Linked DNA regions of Homo sapiens: all the other regions are linked to region 4. The links are contacts of gene promoters, found by promoter capture Hi-C in blood cells and fetal thymus (Javierre and others, 2016). All regions are on one chromosome and are shown on one strand. The core of a region is centred on a gene start or on the middle of the fragment in contact, and the rest is flanking DNA. Distances in the headings are between cores, read along the strand shown.

What was found. The method cuts DNA at HindIII sites, captures the fragments that hold promoters and counts their contacts. A CHiCAGO score of 5 or more calls a contact.
Region 1: a fragment that was not itself captured here is called in contact with the fragment with the promoter of GAS1 in region 4 in 1 of 17 cell types (M2 macrophages); the score reaches 5.7 in M2 macrophages.
Region 2: a contact is called between a fragment that was not itself captured here and the fragment with the promoter of GAS1 in region 4, in 5 of 17 cell types (M0 macrophages, megakaryocytes, M1 macrophages and 2 more). The highest score is 9.9, in M0 macrophages.
Region 3: a contact is called between a fragment that was not itself captured here and the fragment with the promoter of GAS1 in region 4, in 2 of 17 cell types (M0 macrophages and M2 macrophages). The highest score is 7.5, in M0 macrophages.
Region 5: a fragment that was not itself captured here is called in contact with the fragment with the promoter of GAS1 in region 4 in 1 of 17 cell types (M1 macrophages); the score reaches 5.1 in M1 macrophages.
Region 6: a fragment that was not itself captured here is called in contact with the fragment with the promoter of GAS1 in region 4 in 1 of 17 cell types (M2 macrophages); the score reaches 5.9 in M2 macrophages.

What each region holds. Positions count from the first base shown.
Region 1 is chr9:86,652,588-86,656,766 of GRCh38, forward strand. No RefSeq gene overlaps it. Among named protein-coding and RNA genes, the nearest start is that of LINC02834, 54 kb to the right of the region's middle. The HindIII fragment of the contact is 4,916 bases long and covers 1-4,179 here.
Region 2 is chr9:86,484,247-86,488,013 of GRCh38, forward strand. The region is part of intron 1 of LOC102724080 (a long non-coding RNA gene); the gene reads left to right. Among named protein-coding and RNA genes, the nearest start is that of TUT7, 130 kb to the left of the region's middle. The HindIII fragment of the contact is 2,035 bases long and covers 941-2,975 here.
Region 3 is chr9:86,628,516-86,632,209 of GRCh38, forward strand. No RefSeq gene overlaps it. Among named protein-coding and RNA genes, the nearest start is that of LINC02834, 78 kb to the right of the region's middle. The HindIII fragment of the contact is 7,252 bases long and covers 1-3,694 here.
Region 4 is chr9:86,946,210-86,950,091 of GRCh38, forward strand. It overlaps GAS1 (growth arrest specific 1), which reads right to left and starts at 1,297. Exons shown (of 1, transcript NM_002048.3): 1 at 1-1,297. The coding sequence starts at 570. It overlaps GAS1RR (GAS1 adjacent regulatory RNA), which reads left to right and starts at 2,489. Exons shown (of 7, transcript NR_049794.1): 1 at 2,489-2,784. RefSeq lists silencers at 288-357, 428-507. The HindIII fragment of the contact is 4,442 bases long and covers 1-2,165 here.
Region 5 is chr9:86,610,030-86,613,698 of GRCh38, forward strand. No RefSeq gene overlaps it. Among named protein-coding and RNA genes, the nearest start is that of LINC02834, 96 kb to the right of the region's middle. The HindIII fragment of the contact is 3,130 bases long and covers 266-3,395 here.
Region 6 is chr9:87,317,159-87,321,337 of GRCh38, forward strand. No RefSeq gene overlaps it. Among named protein-coding and RNA genes, the nearest start is that of LINC02872, 170 kb to the left of the region's middle. The HindIII fragment of the contact is 3,042 bases long and covers 516-3,557 here.

The sequences.
Region 1 (4,179 bases), core at 531-3,030, 290 kb before region 4:
GGCACACTGGTGGGCACGTCTGATTGGAAAGCTGCTTCTGCCCCAGCCCTGTTTTAGCTAGTCCTCAATCTGGTCCGGTGTCTGAACCCTGCCTCTGGAGTCAAGTCCCGCCTCCTACCTCAGTTCCATGAGAGTTTTGGATGGTGGGTGCTCTAGTTTTTTCTCTCTCGAGTTTTGTCTCTCTTTCTTTCTCTAACAGTGACTTATACCATCATTAGATTTCTCTAGTCAATTTTCCCGGCAATGTAACAGCACTTTCATATGTGAGGCACTGAGAAAATACTGAAAAGACAGGCAAAGGCATAACTTGGCCCTCAGGGGAATCATAAACTAACCCAGACAGATGCTTGCTTGCCCAAAATGATCCTGTTCAGATAAAATAAGATGCAATTTGAAATCTAGCCCCTAATTCAAGTTAAAAAACAACCTCCATGGTTTTATTTATAGCTTATTTCTTGATTCCAGCACCTTTCCTGTCCAAGTAAGAACCAGTCCTCCCTCATGTGTGAAGGCACAACAACTGAGTCTGACTCACTGCCTAGCTCTATATGATGTAAACACAATAAAAGTATATTAAGCCAACTTTGATTCAATAATACAAGCAAATTTTCTTTTATTGTGGTAAAATATACATAACATAAAATTTACCATTTTAATCATTTTTAAGTGTACAGTTTTGTGACATTAGTATACTCTCATTGTTGTGCAACCATCACCACTATCCATCTCCAGCAGTCTGTAATTATCCTTGCTGAAACTCTATACCCATTAAACATTAACTCCTCATGTCTGTCTCCCCCACCCTCCTGGTTTAAACTTTATTTTGATGGTAAGGGTTAAAGAACATGTAGCCCTTGGAAGGCGTATGAAGCACATGCTCCAACTCTTTCTTTCTTTTTTTCAATAGTCCTTTATATCGGACCCAACACTGTGTGTATTAGTTAGGTTTCCATACCTATTTTACAGATAGGAAACCAAGGCCTAGTAAGCTAATGTCACCCCCTTTAACTGAACACAATTCTTGCTTGGCCTTTCCTTCTTGCCTAGGTGAATTATCTGCCCACCAAGAGTCAGATGACATTTTATGGCCTCCGTTGCTGGCTCATGCACTGCCCTGGGGTTTCTGAAATTCCAGCAGTGTGCAGGTGACTTGTAGATGATTGTATTTGTATTAGTCCGTTTTCACACTGCTATAAAGATACTACCTGAAACTGGGTAATTTATAAGCAAAAGAGGGTTAATTAGCTCACAGTTCTGCATGGCTGAGGAGGCCTCAGGAAACTTACAATCATGGTGGAAGGAGAAGGGGAAGCAGGTCCCTTCTTCACAAGACAGCAGGAGAGAGAGAGCTCGGGGAAACTGCCACTTTTAAACCATCAGATCTCATGAGAACTCCCTCACTATCATGAGAACAGCATGGAGGAAACCAACCCCATGATCAATCACTTCTCACCAGTTCCCTCCCTGGAGGTCTGTCCCTCCCAATTTGAGATGAGATTTGGGTGGGGACACAGAGCCAAACCATATCAGTATTGATGGTTCTGCTGTCATTGATTCTGTTTTCCAGTTACATCAGCAAGGAACCTGGGGCTCCACCTACAGGTGTTTAACTATGAGAGAATGAGATCTCTGGTTTTAAAGGGGTTCTTAGCCTAGATTCCAGGCTTGACTCTACCTCTCAACCACGGTTCAACTTTGAGCAGATTACATGGTCTCTCTAAATCTCAGCTTCCTCACTGTAAAGGAGCTTCAGTTTCTCCATGGTGCAACAGGGATAGTAACATGTTTGATGTTCCCACTTAGATATCTGATAGGCATCTCAAACTCAACAGAATGAAATTGAATTTTGATTTTTTTCCTCCTGAATTGGTTTCTTCTGCAGTCCTCTTTAGATTAATTAATGGATCTGACAGATGACATGACAGAAACCCAGAAGGAGACCTCCATTCCTTTTTTTTTCTTGATCATCAGAAAGTCCTATTTATTATGCCTGAGTTACAGTTTTGTTACGTACATCAATTTCTCTTCAATTTCACAGCCATTACCCTGGTTCAGCTCCAAAAAGGACTATGAAAATAGCCTCTCAACAGGTCTACCTGGTGCTTCTCTATCATCTTTAACAATACAAATGAGGATAAAAATAAGAATGTTTTTACAGTGCTTGGTCTGCCAGCCACTGTTCTAAGTGTATTACATATATTAATTTATTTAATCCATGTACCAGTCTTAGGCAAATCCCCTACTTAAAATTAATCCATGGCTTCTCATTGTTTTAAGAATAAAATTCAAGCTCTCTGTCTTGCTCTGCAAGATTCTGAATGATCTCACTTCTCCCTCCAATCTCTCCTCCCCAGTCTTCACCTTCACTCTTCAGAGGCTGACTACACTGCCTTCCTTTTTATTTCTCAAATATGTTCTCAAGTCTTTGCAGTTCCTGTTTTTTTCTGTTTTGTCTCCCAACTCTTTGCATGGCTAGGTTATTCCCATGCTTGAAGTCTTAGCTCATAAAATACCTCCTTGGAGAGGCCTTCCCAATCTTGTTTATCCTGTTTATGGGCCAAGAATTCTTGATCACATCATCCAGGTTATGATATGATGTGAACAATGCCTATCCCAGTTTGTATTGATCTTGTTTGTTTATTTGTGTATTTTTTTATTACCCCATTAGGCTGAAAGCTCTATGAGGGCAGAGACTTCATCTGTTTTGTTCCCTGTTCTTTTCAGCACCAAGGAGAATGCCTGGGTCCCAAGGGACTCAGTGGCTGTGGCTAGAATGAATCAGTGAAAGAATAAATCACACATGACAGAGGGCCTTTGACCTCATAAGGGTATTGGAGGATTAAAATGCATGGGATAGCCTATTGGTTGTACTTTATGAATCAGTCACCAGCTCAGATGTTTGAAAAGAATAATTATTTTCTTTTCTGTTATTTATCATTTCCTATAGCAGTTTTAAGTCGAAAGTTTCTTTTTCTTAGACAAGCAGACATGATAACCATAGTCTTCCTCTTTCAGACCCCTCCCAGATGTGTGCCAACTCAGGAATACCTTGTAATGCCAAAATTACATGAGGCAGGGCGATCAAGTTACTGCCAAGAACCAAGAGCCATGTCTACACAGCTCTGGGTGTAGCTCTTTTTTTTCTTTTCTTTTTCTTTTTTTGAGACAGGGTCTCACTCTGTCGCCCAGGCTGGAGTGCAGTGGCACAATCGTGGCTCACTGCAGCCTTGACCTCCAGGGCTGAAGTGATCCTCCCACCTCAGCCTCCTGAATAGCTGGGACTACAAGTGTGTGCCATCATGCCTGGCTAATTTTTAAATTTTTTGTAGAGACGAAGTCTCATTATGTTGCCCAGGCTGGTCTCGAACTCCTGAGCTCAAGCAATCCTCTTGTCTTGGCCTCCCAAAGTGCTGAGATTTGAGTGTAGCTCCTTAAAGAATTCAGGACCCACTCAGGTAGGGGACCTTCGGAGACTCCTGGCATCTGCTCTGTCTGGATGGACATGCAGCCGCTTCTCTGGGATCCTGCCCCTTCCTCTGTGGCATTGCCAGGAGAGGCCCACTGGTCTTACTCTTCCCACCCCTCCGCTAGGCTAGGGAACACTTAGGGGAGGGGGGAGCAAAGGAGGAGTCCTGCTGAACCCCTTACGCCTGGCAAAGACCTCATTCCTGCTCTTCAATCCCCTAGGGTCTTGCGGCTTAGATTCCTGGGAGATGATGGTCGGGGAGATTTTCAGGCTGCCTCCATTTATCCTCCCTTGAGTCAGTGATTACAGAAAGGAAAGGAAAAACACAAGAGGAAAACCATATAATGATACATCATAAAAAATATCTAGCCAACACTCACAGAGCACCAGTTACAGTGACCACCTAATAGATATTAATTCCTACTTTTGTCACATTCCTCCCTCCCTTAAAGGTCTCACAAATGATCTGTGGAGTGAAACCCCATTGGGTCATTAAGGCTGACCAGGATGAAACAACCACTTCTCTTACCAACTTATCTGTTTCCACAGGACTCACACTGTGGGGTAGCATGTAAAGTTCTTTCTCCCATTAGAAATTGTCCAAACAGGCATCCAGGTGACTTATCCAAACTCCACTTTTGTATGGAGTTTGGATAAATCCTCCTTTTTCTCTGCTTCCCAGAATGGTGCTATTGGGTTTGAGATATTCATAT
Region 2 (3,767 bases), core at 708-3,207, 460 kb before region 4:
ACCATTGCATCTCAAGTGGGGCGTTTTCTGTTCCCTATACTTCATCCCCAAAAAATGAAAGCCAGGCCACAACTTTTGATAGGTCCTTATTAAGACCCAGGAGTCAATGAAGAGACAAACAACAGAGAAATGGTTTGTGTAGCTCTTAGTAGTGGTTCTGCTCCAACCCCAGGGACCCAGATTCTCCTTAGGGTCTTTTATGGCTGCCTACCCCTTGGGAATATCTGAGCAAGACTAAGACAGAGCAATATGTTTCCCTCGGTCAAGAAAGCAAGAAAGCCCCTGAGCCACAACTCCGACTCAAGTCTATGTAACAATTTACATTTCCAAGTCAAGGCTTTGCCTCCTGTTCTAAAAGAACCAATTTTTCCCAAGTCCAGGCTGCATTTTCTGTTCTAAAAGAGCCAAATTTTATCGGTGGGGTCTTCCACACACTCCGATAAGAATCTTTGTGAGTATCCTCGATTTACATTAGTGACCAAAGGACACATTTTGGTGTTCCTAAAGCAAAGCAAAATGTTTGCCTGGAAGGCGAATTCAATCTTCCTTTGAGAAGACAGAAAATTGCTTTTATTTTTATTTTATTTATTTATTTGTCTGTTTTTGAGAAGGAGTTTCACTCTGTCACCCAGGCTGGACTGCAGTAGTGCAATCTTGGCTCACTGCAACCTCTGCATCCCAGTTCAAGCGATTCTCCTGCCTCAGCCTCCCGAGTAGCTGGGATCACAGGCCCTCTAATTTTTTGTATCTTTTAGTAGAGACGGGGTTTCACCATGTTGGCCAGGCTGGTCTCGAGTTCCTGGTCTCAAGTGATCAGCCAGCCTCAGCCTCCCAAAGTGCTGGGATTACAGGCAAGAGCCACTGCACCTGGCCAGAAAACAGCTTTTAAATGTAAGATTTTCTTGGCACTATCTAATACCTTCTCTTCATGTCCACTACAAGCTTTAGGCATTCATTTCTCAAGCATAAGGACCATGTTAATACTTTATATACTTCAAAGAGATGATCATACTGTCTCCTTAATGCAGGTATACCTCAGGATTGACCTTGTCATGCTGCAGTGACAAACATCTCCAAAATGTTAGTGGCCTAAACCATAAAGATTTGTTTGTTACTTACATCACATGTCCAGCACAGACTGTGCTCGTGGCATTCTCTCACAGGTCCAGGTGGGCCGAGCCACCATGAATTTCAGGCCACTGCCCCAAAGGGAATAAAGAACTCTAAGTCTTGCAACAATCAAATGTCCTGTCCTGGAAGTGACACATGTCATTTCTGCTCTCTACTCATCAACCAAAACTAGTCACATGGCCCCACTCAGCCGCACGGGCACCAGGAAGTGCAATTTCCCTCAGAGCACGGGAGAGATGACATATTTGGTGAACAGCACCAAGGACCACAACATTCTGAGTAAATATTTAGTGACTAACTTTACTTTCTCTCCTCAGAGAAATCTCATGGATCTTCTTTACTTCCAGTTGGATTCTCTTTTATTTCTCTTCTTAAGGACTTAGACATTAAAAAACAAAACAAAACAAAAAAACAAGTAGGATCAATCACTTAGTACCAAGAATGCATTTTATTTTTCAGTCTACTCTTCTCTTTGTCTTTATTTTCCTCGCATTGCTTCTCTCACTCCTGGGCTTCTGACCCTTTCTGTCTCTCTAGCTTTGACAATACTCTGAAAACTTGAGCCTGGGGACTTACATGGCTCTTGGAGAACTTGGCTCAGCTCCCTTTCTGGGTCCTGCCTTGTGTCAGACCTTTTCTCTCCCAAATATTCATGCTTCAGTATTCCAGATTCCCAAGCATTCCCGAGAGAGCCTCAGTCATCTGTCCCTCCTCTCCTGAACTTTCAGCCCCAGAACCTTTTGGCATATAAAGAGAATCGTGTGGCAAAAATTACAACCCTAGTTAGAGTTAATTCCTTCTTTTGGTGAAAAAAAAAAAGATTTCATGAAGGAAGAAGTTTTGCTGCAAGATGGTTTTAGTTACTTCCTATATTTTATCTGTTTAGCTTTAAGGTCCTTGCTGTCCAGTATTATAACTATTGTGATGGTTCAGGCTAAAGCTGCAGTAGTACGTGTTATTACTCAGGTATTATGAAGAAGAGCTGTACAAAAGTAGCTTCTTCCAAGCGAAAAAGTTGTGCATTTTTAAAATTAAAAAGATGCAGTTTTTATAATTAAACCTTTAAAACATTTAGGTGTAGGCCGGGTGTAGTGGCTCATGCCTGTAATCCCGGCACTTTGGGAGGCCAAGATGGGTGAATTGCTTGAGTGCGGGACTTCGAGACTAGTCTGGGCAAGAAGATGAAACCATATCTCTACAAAATACAAAATAATTAGCTGGGTGTGGTGGTGTGTGCCTGTAGTCCCAGCTACTCAGGAGGCTGAGATGGCAGGATCACTTGTGCCCAGGAGGTTGAGGCTGCAGTGAGCTGTGATGCTGCCACTGCACTGCAGCCTGGATGACGGATTGAGACCCAGTCTCAAACCAACAACAACAAAAACTTTGGTGTATATTTAACATACTTAAACTTTCTCATAATGAGATAATTCACTCTGAGGTAAAACAGATATGTTTATCCCAACATGGGTACAGTCTTGTTTTTAAGTCAGTCCTTTTTTTAGAGCCATCTCTAGACATATACACAGCTATAGAAATGTCTTTGCAACAGAAAAATGCAATGGAAAATAAACCAGACCATGCACAGCATTAAAAGCAAATGATGTGATATATTGTAGGGCAGGCAGTTTTACACACTTCTGTTAGGTCAGGCTGATTTTCTAGTCTAAGATAAAAATCCAAACATGCTAAGCCAATGTATGTGGATTTCTATACAAAACATATGTGAATAATATTATCTTTTGCAGAGATTATGGGTAGGCCTTTTCTTGTAAATATAATCATCTGGGATTATGGTTCAATTCCTGGCACTGTCAGTGAGGTTTAGGAGTTTTCCAAGGACTGAAAGCTTTTGATTTTTCTATGCTATAGCTCCATTTTGACAGAGAATGACAGTGTATGAAGAAAACTGAGTCTTCCCCCTCACCTCCCACCAGGTGCAAGAGGCTCCTGTAACAAGATCAGCCTAGAAGTTCCTTCCCAGAGAAAGCAAAATGATCAAAAAAGGAGAAGTTGGGAACAAAATTTGACTAGACTAGGCCCTTTAAGTTTATTTCCATTCCACAAGGTGGCAGTAAATACATTCCTAAGGCTATCTGCTTGGGAGAAGAATGAAATGGCAAAGTATTATTTAGTCTCTGTGCTGGGAGAACTGATGCTGCTGAAACCAGAGTAAACACATTTAAGGATCAATCGAGCATCATTCATGAGAATTTCCTTCTCCAAACCCCTTCCTTAACTCTCAGGAAGGAAATGACAATGGGACCTTGAACTGGAGACCCCAGAACCTGCTTTTTCTCTACTACAATCTTGAGGTTTTATTAAAATTAGATAATAAGCAAGCCATCCTGTTAGCTGTCAAGGCTGAAAATACAATCAACTGAAAGATAAGTTGGACAAAAAGAAATTCAGAAACAGTGTCCTTACAGCAAATGGCCATAGAATGGCCCAGTGACAATAATATTAGTTTACTTAGATGTTTACCTTTAAAGATAAATTCATTGATAATTTGGAGACAGCATATTAGAGTAGTTAGATTAGAACATCTTCAAATGTCAATCTTTTGGTTTCTGTATGCTATGATTTGAATGTCTCCTCCAAAATTCATGTTGAAATGTAATCTCCAATGTGGTAGTATT
Region 3 (3,694 bases), core at 32-2,531, 320 kb before region 4:
AGTATGAAATATGGCATTAACTATCCAAAAAATTACAAAAAATTAAATATTTCTTCTCTAGGTGAAACCAGCTCCTCCCCTCCTCCTTATTTATTACATTCTGCTTCTAAGCAGTACTTTTATTTGAAAAATGCATGCAAGTTACTGCAGAGCCTTTTATAAATCTCGTGCATGCACGCTTGTGCACACGTGTACACTCGGCAATTGAGCTAGAATGATTTACTGGAAAATTGATGTGTGATCTGTTCTGTCACTTGCCTTCCCCAGTTGGAAAAAAAATGACAGGTTCTCTCTCCATCTCACCCAATCTCTCTATCTCTCTTTCCCCAGCTTTAGAGATTTTACAGAACCCATAATCAATGCTGCTGTTTGAGAGCCTCCTCTTTTTGTATTTTATGAAATGTAAAGCCCATTGAAGACATTTCCTGAGGTGTCCTTGAGGGAATGGGAAGGGGGACGAGTGCATTGGAGAGCTGAACAGTGACAGCAGCAGCAAGGTGCAGTTTCTAAATCAGAGGTGTGGTCAGAGGCCAGCAGTTTCTCAAGTGATGGGACTTGTGCCTATAAAGTGAAATGTCTCAGCAAGACCTCAGGAGGCAAAAGGCTTTCTGGTGCTGTTGGGAAGGCAGGACTTTAGCATGAGGATTTCTCTTTGTAAATGGTCTCTGTTACCCCTTGAAAAAGAAAAGCCTGTTCACCCACAGGGAGACCTTGGGGCTTGTGACAGTGAGAAGAATAGGGTCTGGTAGCAGATTCTGTTTGCCAGAGGTGGACTCCACAATATCTTCCATCCTACATGCCCTTCTTTGATGTGGCCCTGCCACACTCTATAGAGGGGTGAGGTCTAGTTTCTCTCCCCTTGCATCTGGGCTGGCCTAGAGATTGGCTTGTAACCTGAAGTCGTGCAGCTTCTGCTTTTGTATTAGTCCATTTTCATACTGCTATAAAGAACTGCCCGAGACTCGGTAATTTATAAAGAAAATAGATTTAATTGACTTACAGTTCAGCATGGCTAGGGAGGCCTCAGGAAACTTACAATCATGCAAAGGGGAAGCAAGGCACCTTCTTCACAAGGCAGCAGGAAGAAGTGCCTGGTGAAGGGGGAAGAGCCTCTTATAAATCCATCAGATCTCATGAGAACTCACTCACTATCAAGAGAACAGTATGGGGGAAAAAGCCCCCATGATTCAATTACCTCCACGTGGTCTTTCCCTTGACACATGGGGATTATGGGGAATATGGGGATTATAATTCAAGATGAGATTTGGGTAGGGACACAGAGCCTAACTATGTCAGTTTTGGTCTTTGGCAAGTAAGTTCTCTGGGCACTCCTTCCAGGGGTGCTCCATTCCAGGACCCAGCTGGCTGCTATGCTGTAAGAAACCCAAGCTCGGTGGACAGGCCGTGTGTAAGCACTCCAGTCGACAGCATTGGCCAGGCTCAGTTTTGCAGCCATCCTGAACAGCTTCCAGATGATTCCAGCCTCTCGCTCTTCTTCTTCCCATCTGAGTCCCCAGACATTGTGGAACAGAGACAAGCATGCACAGGGTTCCCCAACTGAATTCCTAACCACAGCATTCATGATTGTACTGAAATGGTTGTTGTCTTATGCCACTAATTTTTTTTTAAATGAGCTTTATCAAGGTATTTTAAGACATGTCCATCAACCCAAAAATTTCATTGTGCTTTTTGTCATTAGTTTCCTCTCCTAATCCCAATCCCAGACAACTTCAGATCTGCTTTCTGACTCTGCAGTTCCTTCTTTTCTAGAAATTCCATACAAATGGACTCATATGAGTCTTTTTTTTTTTTTTTTGACACAAAGTCTCACTCTGTTGTCCAGGCTGGAGTGCAGTAATGCGATCTTGGCTCACTGCAACCTCCGCCTCCTGGGTTCAAGAGATTCTCGTGCCTCAGCCTCCTAAGTAGCTAGAATTACAGGCGCCCACCACCAGGCCTGGCTAAGTTTTGTATTTTTAGTAGAGATGAGGTTTCAGTATGTTGGCCAGGTTGGTCTCAAACTCCTGACCTCAGGTGATCCACCTGCCTCAGCCTCCCAAAGCGCTGGGATTACAGGCGTGAGCCATTGTGCCCGGCCTATATGAGTCTTTTATTTGAAGTTGCAGTGAGCTATGATTGCACCACTGATCCCCAGCCTGGGTGAAACAATGGGACCCTGTCTCCCAAAATAATAATAATGATAATAATAATAATATGAGTCTTTTCTGTTTTATGCCACTGCACTTTTGGGATATTTTGTTATGTAGCAATGAATGGCTGGAAGAACTTCCCTTTCCATTGTCTAGACATTGCATGAGTTTTATGAACAATTGTGCCCTTAAGGAGGGAAGGGTGCCTGATAATGGCTAAGACTGAATTCTCTCTTTAGGCTAATTTAAGTGGATTTAAAAGAAGTGGACATGTGCTGTTTCCTCTTTATCTGAGTTGGTAGACTAAGATTCATTTATGGTCTTTACCATGATGAAGTCAAGGGATAGGCCTATTTTTAGAGTAGTGTTTAAGGGTTCTACACATTTTCATGAAACACGAAGAGCTACTGAATATGACCAGCTGACCAGCTCTGCTCCCCATCAGCTGCCTGTAACTGGGAAATGCAGCAGATCTTATCCATCCTTCCTTCTGGTGCCACAACATAGACCTGCTGCCTCATTCCTCTATTCCAGGGCTGTAGAAGGCGACGAAGGTCACATTATCAAGTGGGAAACTATTGTGCCTCTGTTGTTTCAGGGAATTTTAGACTTTTAGAATCCCTTACAGGTTTGGGAGCTTTATATTTTTATTCTTTGCCAACCCAAATATCAAGAAGCCTGAGAGGAAGAATTGACTAGGCAAATGAACTGCCGTGGAGCTGTTTCTTATTTATAGGAAAGTAGTTATAAAAATCAAGGAAAGAGCCTGGTGCCCTTGCTTATGCCTGGAATCCCAGCACTTTGGGAAGCTGAGGCAGGAGGATCGCTTGAGCCCAGGAGTTGGAGACCAACCTGGGCAACATAGGGAGACCCCATCTCTACAAAAAATTTAAAAATATAGCCAGGTGTGGTGGTGCATGCCTGTGGTTCCAGCTACTCAGGAGGCTGAGGTGGGAGAATCCCTTAAGCCCAGGAGGTCGAGGCTGTGAGGCATATGGCACCCCTATACTCCAGGCTGGGAGACAGAGTGAAACCCCATCAAAAACAAAACCAAACAAAACAAAAGGCAAGGAGACAAAATCTATGGGGAAAGGAGTGGGTGAAAATTGAAGCAAACTCAGAAAAGTGTCCAAAATATTATGCCTAGAGGCAAACATAGGAAGGATCAAAAGAAAACATTTAGTCTCTCCTCACCCCTAATTTGCATGAAATCCAGTAAACACAAGTAAATGCACAACTAAACCGGGTTCTTTTCAACACCTCTGGGGAGGGCACTCACAAGTCCTCCTGGGGTAACTCAGAGCTATTTAAAAATAATAAAGGAAAAGAATACTGTTGACAGGTGCTATGTGCTTTGCTTGATGTAACCCTTGTTTCTCAAATTGGTTTGTCTCTAGGTAATATTTTTATTAATCCTCTCAGATGCTTTAGTGTCACTTCATTGAAATTAATTTTTTTGTTGTTGGTCCAGGTCTCTGCGGAAGATGCTCTTTGTGGAGTGAATCGTTAACTGGGGAGGAGGCCACCTAGATTCAGTTATAGAA
Region 4 (3,882 bases), core at 47-2,546:
GCAGTAGGTCAGGTAGCGGCTCAGCGCCAGGTTGCAGCGGCTGTCGCGGTCGCAGCGCCGCCGGGCCTCGGTGCAGCCCATGACCCCGCCCGCGCCGGGGCCGCCCGCGCCGCCGCCGCTCGTCCGGGGCAGGCACGGCTCAATGGCGCGCTTGGTGGACTTGCAGTTCTCGTCCTGCGCGCAGTCACAGTCCTCCAGGGCGGGCCCGCGGCGCGTGTGGTTGAGCTGAATGAGGGCCGAGATGCAGTGACTCGGGCAGCGCCAGCGCGACGAGAAAGAGGCGGCCGAGGCCGGGAAAGCGGCGGCGGCGGCCCCGGGCGCGTCGCCCCCGCCGTGCTGCGCCAGCACCGGCGCGCACGCCTCGGCGTACTGGTTGTAGGCGTAGCTGCACTCCGGCTCCCCCTGGCACTGCAGCAGCGCCTGCCAGCAGATGAGGCGGCGGCCGTGCGCCAGCCCCGATCCCCGCGGCGCCGAGCCCAGCAGCTGCAGCAGCGCCATCAGGCACAGCCAGGCGCCCGGCACTGTCCCCCCGCGGGCCTCGCCGCCGCCGCCCAGCAGCGCGGCCACCATCGCGGGCAGCGGCGGCCGCCGGGAGAGGAGGGGAAAGGAGACGAGGCGCGGGGAGCGGCGGACGCGGAGCCGGTGGAAAAGTTTGTCCAAGTCCTGCCCACTTCTTGCATGAGTGTCTTCATAAATCCATGCGCGCCGCTGGCTGATGCCCCGCTGGTGGCAGAAGGTCCCCTTTCGCTCTGGCTGCGGTGGCTTCCTGGAAATGAACAGCTGTCGAGATCTGGTCCCGCTCTCCCACCCGAGAGCCCTCCGCTCGGCCCCCGGTGGTGGCGGGAGAGGCTCACTGTCGCCCCGGGGGGGTGCGGGCCGCGGGGCCGTGGCGGGGCTGCAGGACCGCGCGGCGCGGCGGGTGCATTTTGCTCCGCGCCTGCAGATCCGTTGTGCGGCCGGCTGTCCCCGTGCCGGCTGCTCGCGCTGCGGCCGCGGCGGCTCCTTCCTCCTGGGCTCAGTGCCTCGCCGCCGCCACCGCCGCCGCGGTCTCTCGCATCGCGCCGCTTCCTGGCCCGGCGTCCGCGCGCTGCCCGCCTTCCCGCGGCCCGGCCGCCCCGCGTCCCCTCCCCCTCCGCCCGCGGCAACCCCGGCCTCCGCAGAGCTCCGGGGAGCTCTTTCCGGGAAGCGCGGGGAGAACAAGAAAGTCGGCGCTGCCGGAGAGCGGCTCCCTGGCTTCACTCGGCGGCAGCTTCTCGGGTGACCAAGAGCCCGGGGAGCGGATCCGCTGAGCCCGGCTGCAGACTCGTTAGCAGCGAGGCTTTAAATACAAAAGTGGGCCGGGAGCCCCCGCGTGGTGCCGCGGTGCCCCCTCATTATGCATGCATGGAAAAGCAAACAAACAAAAACATTAGCAACGCTCCTCCGGCTCGCCGAGCCCCGGCCCCGCGCGCTCCGAGCCTGCCCGCTTTCTCCTTTCTCCACTCTCTTTCGCCCTTTGCTCGGCCCCCTTTCCCGGCTTTTCGAGATGCTATTGGTCCTGCCTGTTGTTGTTGAAAGTTTTTTTTTTTTTTTTTACGAGCCGCTGGAGTGGGGTTGCGGAGTGGGGGAGGGCGGGAGGGTGGTGGGCAGCTCACATTCAGGCATTCAGGGCTTGAAAGGAACGGCTTAGGGAGCCTGACGGAGGCCCGGAGCTCCTCCTACTCTTAAGGAGGCTCGGATATGCAGCCCCAGCTCGCGCACAGAACCAGCGGGCAGGGCTTAGGGGCAGCTGTTTGCATCCGGCTCAGCCACGGGCCTTTTTTGTTTGTTTTTTTTTTCTTTTTTTTTTTTTTTGTAGTTTTATTAATTCTCGCTGGCCCCCATCTGTGCTTTCGACTGGATTCAGAACTCAGTTTATCTTCCAGGCTCCCTGTCTTTGGGTCTTGATCACCACAGAGGGGAAGGGGAGAATCCAGAGATAAAATGTGAGACTGAAACTGTTTTAAAGAAGCATACAAGAAAGAAGCACACACTTTATTAGGGAGATGTTGATGAGATGCTTACAACCCGCCCGCCACCCCCCAGCCCCAGCTAGGCCATCTGGCAGGTACCGCCCGTGCGCCAGGCATCGTTTTCAAATTGCAAGACCGAAATCCAATCAACCGAAATAATTTCTTAGGAAGATAAGCTTGCAACACGTGCAATAATGAAAAAATTTAACTAGCATTAAAAATATTCAGGAATGTCGAGCAATTACCACCTGGCCGCAGTCACAGGACAGAAGACGGAATAAATGGGCACGCACCAAAGGTTTATATTAAAGTGTAAGTTTCAGCCCCTCAGTATATTTAAGGGAGGCTGCTCTGCAGAGGAAACCTCTGCCTTCTCGGCGAGGGAGTTTCCGAGCTACCTTAACTGGGGCGCAACGCAGCCTTCCGCCACCAGAGGCAGCGGGCGTCTGCGGCCTGTCAAAAACTGGCGCTTTTTTCCTCCCCTTTCCGTGGAGAGACTATCAACTCCATCTGTCACAAAAATTAAGGCTAAATCTCCTCTCCAGAAGCAGAGGGAGCCGGGGCTCCGACGCGCTCAGCGTCGGGCTGTCTGCCTCTCCCTAGAGGCCAAGTGAATTTGAAATGGCAAAAGTCACAGCCGGAGGCCCAGCACTAGGAGATTCCTCCGGCTGCGGGAAATCTTCCTGTACCTGCTGAAGCTGCTGCGTTCCTCAGAGGCGCTTGGTCTGCCGTGGGAAGCTGCACCTCTGCAGTCCCCAAAACCAAAATCAAACCTTAAAAGAGCCAGACTGAGGTAAGGCGGACCGTCTTGCTCTGATTTGAGTATTGGTAGACAAACAGCAATATAAATCGATACTAAAAAAATCCAGAAAGGCTGCAACTTCATGGCACATCAAAACAACCATATCCCTGGCTCTCTGTCTCTTTTTTTTTCTCTATTATTTGGAGTTGTCCTCTCAGTCCGGCCTGGAGGACTTGGACAACTCAGACACCTTCTCTGTGTCTGGGATCCCTCCACAGGTAAGGTTCGAAGCCAATTAGACAATTGAAAAATCCCCTCTTGTCTTTAAAGCTTTGTTATTTTAGGCCCATAAGGAACAAAGTCAGCACTCGGTTTCATCTTTACTTGAATTTTTGTTGAGTTCCTTTAGAATAGTGGGACCCAAACCTTAGCACGTATCCTAAAACTCAGATCCCTAGTTTTTGGAGTTTCTGATTTAGTTGGACTGGTGGGTCCCAAGAATATGCATTTCTAACAAGTTCTCAGGGAATGCTGCTCTCAAACTTTGAGAATCACTGCTCTCAAAGTTAACATGTTTCTTTTCTGTGTTGTTGCTGTGTTTTTGGTAACACTTGCCCCACCTTGGCCTTGATACAGCTCTCAGTGGGGTTTAAGGGAGGCCCAAGAGCTCTGCATGCTTTGGGGACTTCTGCATCCCAGTCACATAGCATTAGCATTGCAAGCCTGAGGGGTTCTCAGCCCACTTTTTACTGTGTCATTTCCATTCACCACAATAGGCTATACTGTCTTCTATCTTAAAAAAACATAATAGTAAAACCTTCTAGACTCCACGTCCCTATTCAGTCACTATCCCATTTTCATGAAAACTTGAAAATCTTGCTTTTACTCACTTTCCCCACTCGATTCACTCTACATAATCGAGTTCCATTCGATTATGTAGAGTCGCTAGTGACCAAAACCTTGCTCTACCTGATTGTCACTTCTCAGTCCTCAGCTTATATGACGTTTCAGCAGCATTGGCCATGACTGATCACCTCCTTTTCAAAGCGCTTTCTAAAATTTTGGCTTCCGAAACTCCATACTCCCCTGTTCTCTCATTTTACTGCCTGGTGGCTCCTTCTGTCTCTCAACTCCTTAGGTAACCACATC
Region 5 (3,669 bases), core at 581-3,080, 340 kb before region 4:
TTTACATTTAAAGTTAATATTGTTATGTGTGAATTTGATTCTGTCATTATGATGCTAGCTGGTTATTTTGCTCGTTAGTTGATGCAGTTTCTTCCTAGTCTTGATGGTCTTTACATTTTGGCATGATTTTGCAGCAGCTGGTACCGGTTGTTCCTTTCCATGTTTAGCGCTTCCTTCAGGAGCTCTTTTAGGGAAGGCCTGGTGGTGACAAAATCTCTCAGCATTTGCTTGTCTGTAAAGTACTTTATTTCTCCTTTGCTTATGAAGCTTAGTTTGGCTGGATACGAAATTCTGGGTTGAAAATTCTTTTCTTTAAGAATGTTGAATATTGGCCCCCACTCTCTTCTGGCTTGTAGGGTTTCTGGTGAGAGATCCGCTGTTAGTCTGATGGGCTTCCCTTTGTGGGTAACCTGACCTTTCTCTCTGGCTGCCCTTAACATTTTTTCCTTCATTTCAACTTTGGTGAATCTGACAATTATGTGTCTTGGAGTTGCTCTTCTTGAGGAGTATCTTTGTGGCGTTCTCTGTATTTCCTGAATCTGAACGTTGGCCTGCCTTGCTAGATTGGGGAAGTTCTCCTGGATAATAACCTGCAGAGTGTTTTCCAACTTGGTTCCATTCTCCCCATCACTTTCAGGTACACCAATCAGACGTAGATTTGGTCTTTTCACGTAGTCCCATATTTCTTGGAGGCTTTGCTCATTTCTTTTTATTCTTTTTTTTCTAAACTTCCCTTCTCGCTTCATTTCTTTCATTTCATCTTCCATCGCTGATACCCTTTCTTCCAGTTGATCGTATCGGCTCCTGAGGCTTCTGCATTCTTCACGTAGTTCTTGAGCCTTGGTTTTCAGCTCCATCAGCTCCTTTAAGCACTTCTCTGTATTGGTTATTCTAGTTATACATTCTTCTAAATTTTTTTCAAAGTTTTCAACTTCTTTGCCTTTGGTTTGAATGTCCTCCCATAGCTCAGAGTAATTTGATCGTCTGAAGCCTTCTTCTCTCAGCTCGTCAAAGTCATTCTCCATCCAGGTTTGTTCCATTGCTAGTGAGGAACTGCGTTCCTTTGGAGGAGGAGAGGTGCTCTGCTTTTTAGAGTTTCCAGTTTTTCTGTTCTGTTTTTTCCCCATCTTTGTGGTTTTATCTACTTTTGGTCTTTGATGATGGTGATGTACAGATGAGTTTTTGGTGTGGATGTCCTTTCTGTTTGTTAGTTTTCATTCTAACAGACAGGACCCTCAGCTGCAGGTCTGATGGAATACCCTGCCGTGTGAGGTGTTAGTGTGCCCCTGCTGGGGGGTGCCTCCCAGTTAGGCTCCTCGGGGGTTAGGGGTCAGGGACCCTCTTGAGGAGGCAGTCTGCCCATTCTCAGATCTCCAGCTGCGTGCTGGGAGGACCAATGCTCTCTTCAAAGCTGTCAGACAGGAACATTTAAGTCTGCAAAGGTTACTGCTGTCTTTTTGTTTGTCTGTGCCCTGCCCCCAGAGGTGGAGCCTACAGAGGCAGGCAGGCCTCCTTGAGCTGTGGTGGGCTCCACCCAGTTCGAGCTTCCCGGCTGCTTTGTTTACCTAAGCAAGCCTGGGCAATGGCGGGTGCCCCTCCCCCAGCCTCGCTGCCGCCTTGCAGTTTGATCTCAGACTGCTGTGCTAGCAATCAGCGAGACTCCATGGGCGTAGGACCCTCTGAGCCACGTGCGGGATATAATCTCGTTGTGCGCCGTTTTTTAAGCCCGTCGGAAAAGTGCAGTATTCGGGTGGGAGTGACCCAATTTTCCAGGTGCCGTCCGTCACCCCTTTCTTTGACTCGGAAAGGGAACTCCCTGACCCCTTGCGCTTCCCGAGTGAGGCAATGCCTTGCCCTGCTTCCGCTCGCGCACGGTGTGCGCGCCCACTGACCTGCGCCCACTGTCTGGCACTCCCTAGTGAGATGAACCCGGTACCTCGGATGGAAATGCAGAAATCACCGTCTTCTGCGTCGCTCACGCTGGGAGCTGTAGACCGGAGCTGTTCCTATTCGGCCATCTTGGCTCTAGTTTTTTGTATTTTTAGTAGAGACAGTGTTTCACCGTGTTAGCCAGGGTGGTCTTGATCTCTTGACCTCGTGATCCGCCCACCTCGGCCTCCAGAAGTGCTGAGATTACAGGCATGAGCCACCACGTCCAGCCTAGAAAATGGGTTTCTATTATTTGAGGACATCAATTAGTTGAGTTGTGTGCAGTGTGGTGGTGGAGACAGTGGAGACAGTTGAGCAGCATGTGTGCAAGCACAGACACATCAAAGAGAGAGGTATGTTGGGGGGAGCGTGGGTTCTCATCTGACCCCACCTGTGTATAGGCCCCAACTCTAGCCTGATTTCCTGATTTTGTACAAAGATGACAAGCTCATTCCCAACTTCAGATCTTTGCTATTTGCTCTTCTATGTCTACCTACCAGCTCCTTTGCCCTGCCTTTCTCACGCAGCAACACTTTCCATCCCTTACACGTCCATTTATTCTCTAGCTTTCATGGGTCATTTCAAACCTTACCCCCATGCCAGTGCATGCTGGGTAAGTCTGAATTGTAGACCTGAGTGCTTCTGTTTGTATCATCCTACACTTTTTTTTTAAAGTATAGTATTTAGTATCTTAAGTCTTGCAAAAGCTAAGTTTGCTATGGCTTTACTTCTGGATATGCTATAATTTCTACCACAAAGAGTTGGTGCTCAATAAATATTTCTTACTCGATCAGTAGTCATAATGAAAACAATGTAAACAAAGGTATGAGCACCAAGGGTGTAAAAATGTTTTGAGAGTTGTGGGGGAAGCAGAGCAATAGGTGATTTAGTGGTCATTGCCAATCCCAAGTGTTTTCACTGAAAATATGAACTCAGCCATTTAAAAGTGGCTAATAGGTTTGTTTTTGTTCTCACCTAGGTTTCTGTGACTGGCAGATACAGCATGAAATGTGAGTTCTCTGCAAACCGTAGCTAATATTGGAAATGTGTATTGTGGCTTGAAGTTAGGTATCCTACCTGAGCTCACGTATCTTTTCTCTTGCTTCCAGCACAAGAAGGTGAGATTCCACACAGCATGATAATTACCTATTTACCTGCCAAGGCCACCCTCTTGGTGGCTCATTTCTCTAAGGAGAACCTGGGCTCATCACATTCACCACTGTTTCCCTGGGCAAGGCCTCCAGAGCCAGATAGTACATTATCCCTGAAATGAAATTTGAATCAAACACTTCCAGAACAAAAAAAGTTTTTAATTGTCTGTGAACTGTTTTGACATTTTTGTTGCCAGGTAGGTAGGTATGGAAAGTAGTTTTTAAAATAGACATCAGGATCTGTGACCTTTTGCCAGCACGGTCTGATGTCTGAGCTCATGTTTAGTTTAAAGGGCTACCCCTCCAATAAAGATAAGCTTATTAACACATTATTCTCTTTATTTGGCTTTTTAAACCATGATTCTCCTTTGAGACCCAAATTATTCAAACACAGTAAAATGTAAGAAGTGGCAGTGGTCCAGTAGACATAGATTTTGCAGCAATTCAAATCACAGAATTCCAAATACAAAAAACTCACATTTAGGATTAGAATATTGCTGTAGTTTTGTTTTCAAGGTAAATACAGCGTGTGTGTTTGTGTGTGTGTGTATGTGTGTGTGCATACACCATGAGGTCCTGAATCAAATTT
Region 6 (4,179 bases), core at 787-3,286, 370 kb after region 4:
AGACACTGCTCTGGGAGTGCACAGAACCACCACATTTCTCCTCAATGCTCTGCTAGGGCCGAGGGGCTACCGTGCTTACACAGAGCAGTAAGCACTCTAGCAAACCTGCACTAAAACCAGAAAGCAAACAGGCCAGGCACAAAGGCCACCATCTCCTAGGGGTCAGGCCTCTTAAGTAAAAGAGAATCGGATTGGCTTTTCCTTTAAGTTGTGGACTCTGACACTGAAGTGACCATTATCCCCAGTCCACTCAGACACTTGGAAGAAAATGTATTATTAAAAGCAATCGATGCATTATGAAAATGAACTGGGTAAACTGTAATTTTATTGGCTCTGAGTTCAAGCCATAAAAGGGTAAATGTGAACAGGTGTGCCAGTTAATGTCCTTGGGTAATTGGTTAAGTATGGTAACCCCCAGAATCTACTTCTACTCAGCTCATACAACTTAAGCTGCAGAAAGTAGAAAGTGCAAAATATACCCACTTTTTAAAACTCTTTATTAAAAATTTTTAAAAAGCTTATTATATGGTCCCCACCTGGGCCATGATTAAGCACTCATTATTGCAGTAACAATGGCCCCATTGTTATTTCATCCTAATAACCATATTTAAATTACACAAAGTTTTGAGAGCTATAGCCTTAATGAAACTGAGGCCCAGGAAGGTTGATTGGTTTTCCTAAGATTGAGAGGAACAGAGCCAGAGGCTGACCCAGAGCTCCAAATTCTCAATCCAATAATTGTTCTAATACATGTAACAGAGAGTCGTTCACTACTGTGCCAGCTTAGACAGTCTCGAGCATATTCTATTGACCAACACAAAGAATATATGCAAGGAGTCTCACCATCCTTATTGGTCAGCGTTCTCCAGAGAGGCAGAACCAACAGGATATGCATACAGAGAAAGAGAAAGATTCATTTTAAGAAATAGGCTTGCACAACTATGGAGGCTTGGTGAGTTAAAAATTTGATGGTGGTGGCCGCTAGGCTAGAGATGCAGGGAAGTTGCAGTTTGAGTCTGAAGGCAGTCTGCTGGCAGAATCCGTTATTGCTCAACAAGATGGAATGGGGGTGGTCAGTCTTTGCTCTGTTAAGGTCTTCAATTGACTAGATGAGACCCACCCACATTATAAAGGGAAATCTGCTTTACCCAAAATCCACCAATTTAAGCATTAATGTCATCCAAAAAACACCTTCACAGAAACATCCAGAATAATGTTTGACCAAATATCCAAGTACAGTGGCCCAGCCAAGTTAAAACATAAAATGAACTACCACACTTTCCCACCAGACGTACAAGTCTTCACCCCCTCCACTTGTTTGCACTTATGAATATCCCAAGAAGAGCAGGAGAGGGTTGTCTATATGGGGTGACCAGGGAGAATGTAGGCAATGTCTATGGCATCACTACAGCTAGGTGACCAACAGGTAAGATGAAGGATGCTAATGAAGATCTCACTAAGATCCACCGAGCTGGAATCAAGAGAAGGGGCTAGGTCTGCGCAGATGAAGCCTCCCTTTCTCTGAAGCTCCTGGGCATGCAAATGATGCATGGTTTTTCTGAATTTTGTTTGTTTGTTTGTTTGTTTAGCTATCAATTGCTGTGAAACAAACTACCCAAAACTTAGTGGCTGGTCTCTCCCAACAACCATTTTATCATTGCTCATGATTCTGCGACCAGGATTTCAGACAGCACACAGAGGGTGGCTTGTCTGTGTCCCATGCAATGTCTGCCGAGGCTAGAATGTCCAAGATGACTTCTTCACTCATACATCTGGTCCCTCAATTAGATCGGCTCAAGTAGCTGAAGGCTGACAGAGACACTTTATGGGAGTCAGAAGTCTGTAGCCTCAATTCTCACAGTTGGCTGGGTTCTTCAGTCTCCACGCAATCTATGGGCTTCTCTCTCTCCACAAAGTTCGATCCTTCCAAGATACACAATCAGAAATGGCCAAACCTTCTTAAAGCTGAAGTCCACACCTGGCACTGGGTCCCCTCTACCAGCATTCTAACAGACCTGGATCAGATCAAGAGGAAGAGACAGCACAAGGGTGTGAATGCCAGGAGGCATGGCTCATTGAGAGTCACAGAAGTGACAAGCTACTTTGTCATTCATACCTGTCTTTGGCTACATCCAAACACCCACCCAAGTCTTCTGTGTTAGGCTGTTCTTACATTGCTAGAAAGAAATACCTAAACCTGGGTAATTTATAAAGAAAAGAGGTTTAATTGGCTCATAGTACTGTAGGCTATACAGGCATGATGCCGGCATCTGCTCAGCTTCTGGGGAGGCCTCAGGGAGTTTTAGTCATGGCGGAAGGTGAAATGGGAGCAGGCACTTCACATGGTGAAAGCTGGAGCAAGAGCAGGAGGGAAGAGGTGTCACACTTTTTTAAACAACGAGATTTGAGAGAACTTACTCACTATCTCGAGGATGGATAATACCAAACCATGAGGGATCTGCCCCCATGACCCAAACAGCTCCCACCAGGCCCCACCTTCAACAATGGGGATTACAATTCAACATGAGATTTGGTGGGGACACAGATCAAAACCATATTATCTTCCCAGAATAAGAACTCTCTTATTCCTCAAGCAACTTCTTTTGGATAAGTCCCAGGTCCTATGCATCCCCTCTGCAGTTTCCCTCCTTGGCTTCCCCCATTCACTGACCTCATTTTGTCTTGAAGATCCTTTCTTACTTCCAAAGGCATTTGCACCTCACACTCATTTTTCTTCCAGTACTCTCACACTGGAGTTGATAGCCCATTAGACCCAAAAATCTTCCCCAAAGTGAAACTAGTTTCCCTTTCCTTGAGTTGAGAAGATTTAATATCCAAATTTTCCAGAAGGTTTGGAAGGAGATATTGCATTTCATTTTTCTAGTATAAAAACAAAGGGGAATAAAACAAATGAATTGCTTTTCATTTTGAGAGACAGGCTGGTAGAGTGGTTAAGAGAGTTGACCCCAGAGCCAGCCTGGCGTTTAGTAGCTCAGTGTCTTCATCTATAAAGTGGGGAGTATCCACCCTATAGCACTGTCGTGAGGATTAAATTAATAAAAATATATAAAGCAGGATGAAAAACAGTAGTAAGTGTCTGCTATGATAATAAAAACAGTTGTATCCTGTAACTTGGAGGTCCCCAACCTTTTTGGCACCAGGAACTGGTTTTGTGGAAGACAATTTTTCCATGGACAAGGGTGGAGGGATGGTTTGGGGATGATTCAAGCACATTGCATGTATTGTGCACTTTATGTCTATTATTATATATTGTAATATATAATGAAATAATTATACAACTCACCATAATGTAGAACCAGTGGGAGCCCTGAGCTTGTTTTCCTGCAACTAGATGGTCCCATCTGGGGGTGATGGGAGACAGTGACAGATCATCAGGCATTAGATTCTTATAAGGAGCATGCAACCTAGATCCCTCACGTGTGCAGTTCACAATAGGGTTCATGATCCCATAAGAATCTAATGCCACTGCTGATCTGACAGGAGGTAAAGCTCAAGTGGTAATATGAGTGATGGGGAGTGACTGTACATACAGATGAAGCTTCACTTGCTTGCCCACCATGTGCCTCCCACTGCCTGGCCCAGTTCCTAACAGTCCATGGACTGGGGGCTGGGGACCCCTGCTGTAAACACATCACACATCTTCCTCAAGTTCCCAGTGTGATAGGAGGGGAACCCAAGTTGTTATGATTTTAAAGATATCCATGTTAATCACTTTTCTTGGAAAAGGAAGCTCCATTAAGATGTGAAAAATGTGAACTTGTTTCACAGGTGAAGTAAAAAAAGATGCAAAAAAATGCTAGGCTCTTTGTCCTCAGAAAAGAATATGGATCAATATCAGGCTTCCTCCAATATGTCCAAGTAGTGGGTTCCCAAAGGAAATATATTTGGGGACATTTTCTACCAAAAAATGGTATATCAAGTGATATGGTTTGTCTGTGTCCCCACCCAAATCTCATCTTAAATTCACAGGTATTGTGGGAGAGACCTGGTGGGAGGTAATTGAATCATGGGGACACGTCTTTCCTGTGTTGTTCTTCTGATAGTGAATAAGTCTCACGAGATCTGATGGTTTTAAAAACGGGAGTTTCCTTAAACAAGCTCCTTCTCTTTGTCTGCCACCATCCACGTAAGATGTGACTTGCTCCTCCTTGCCTTTCA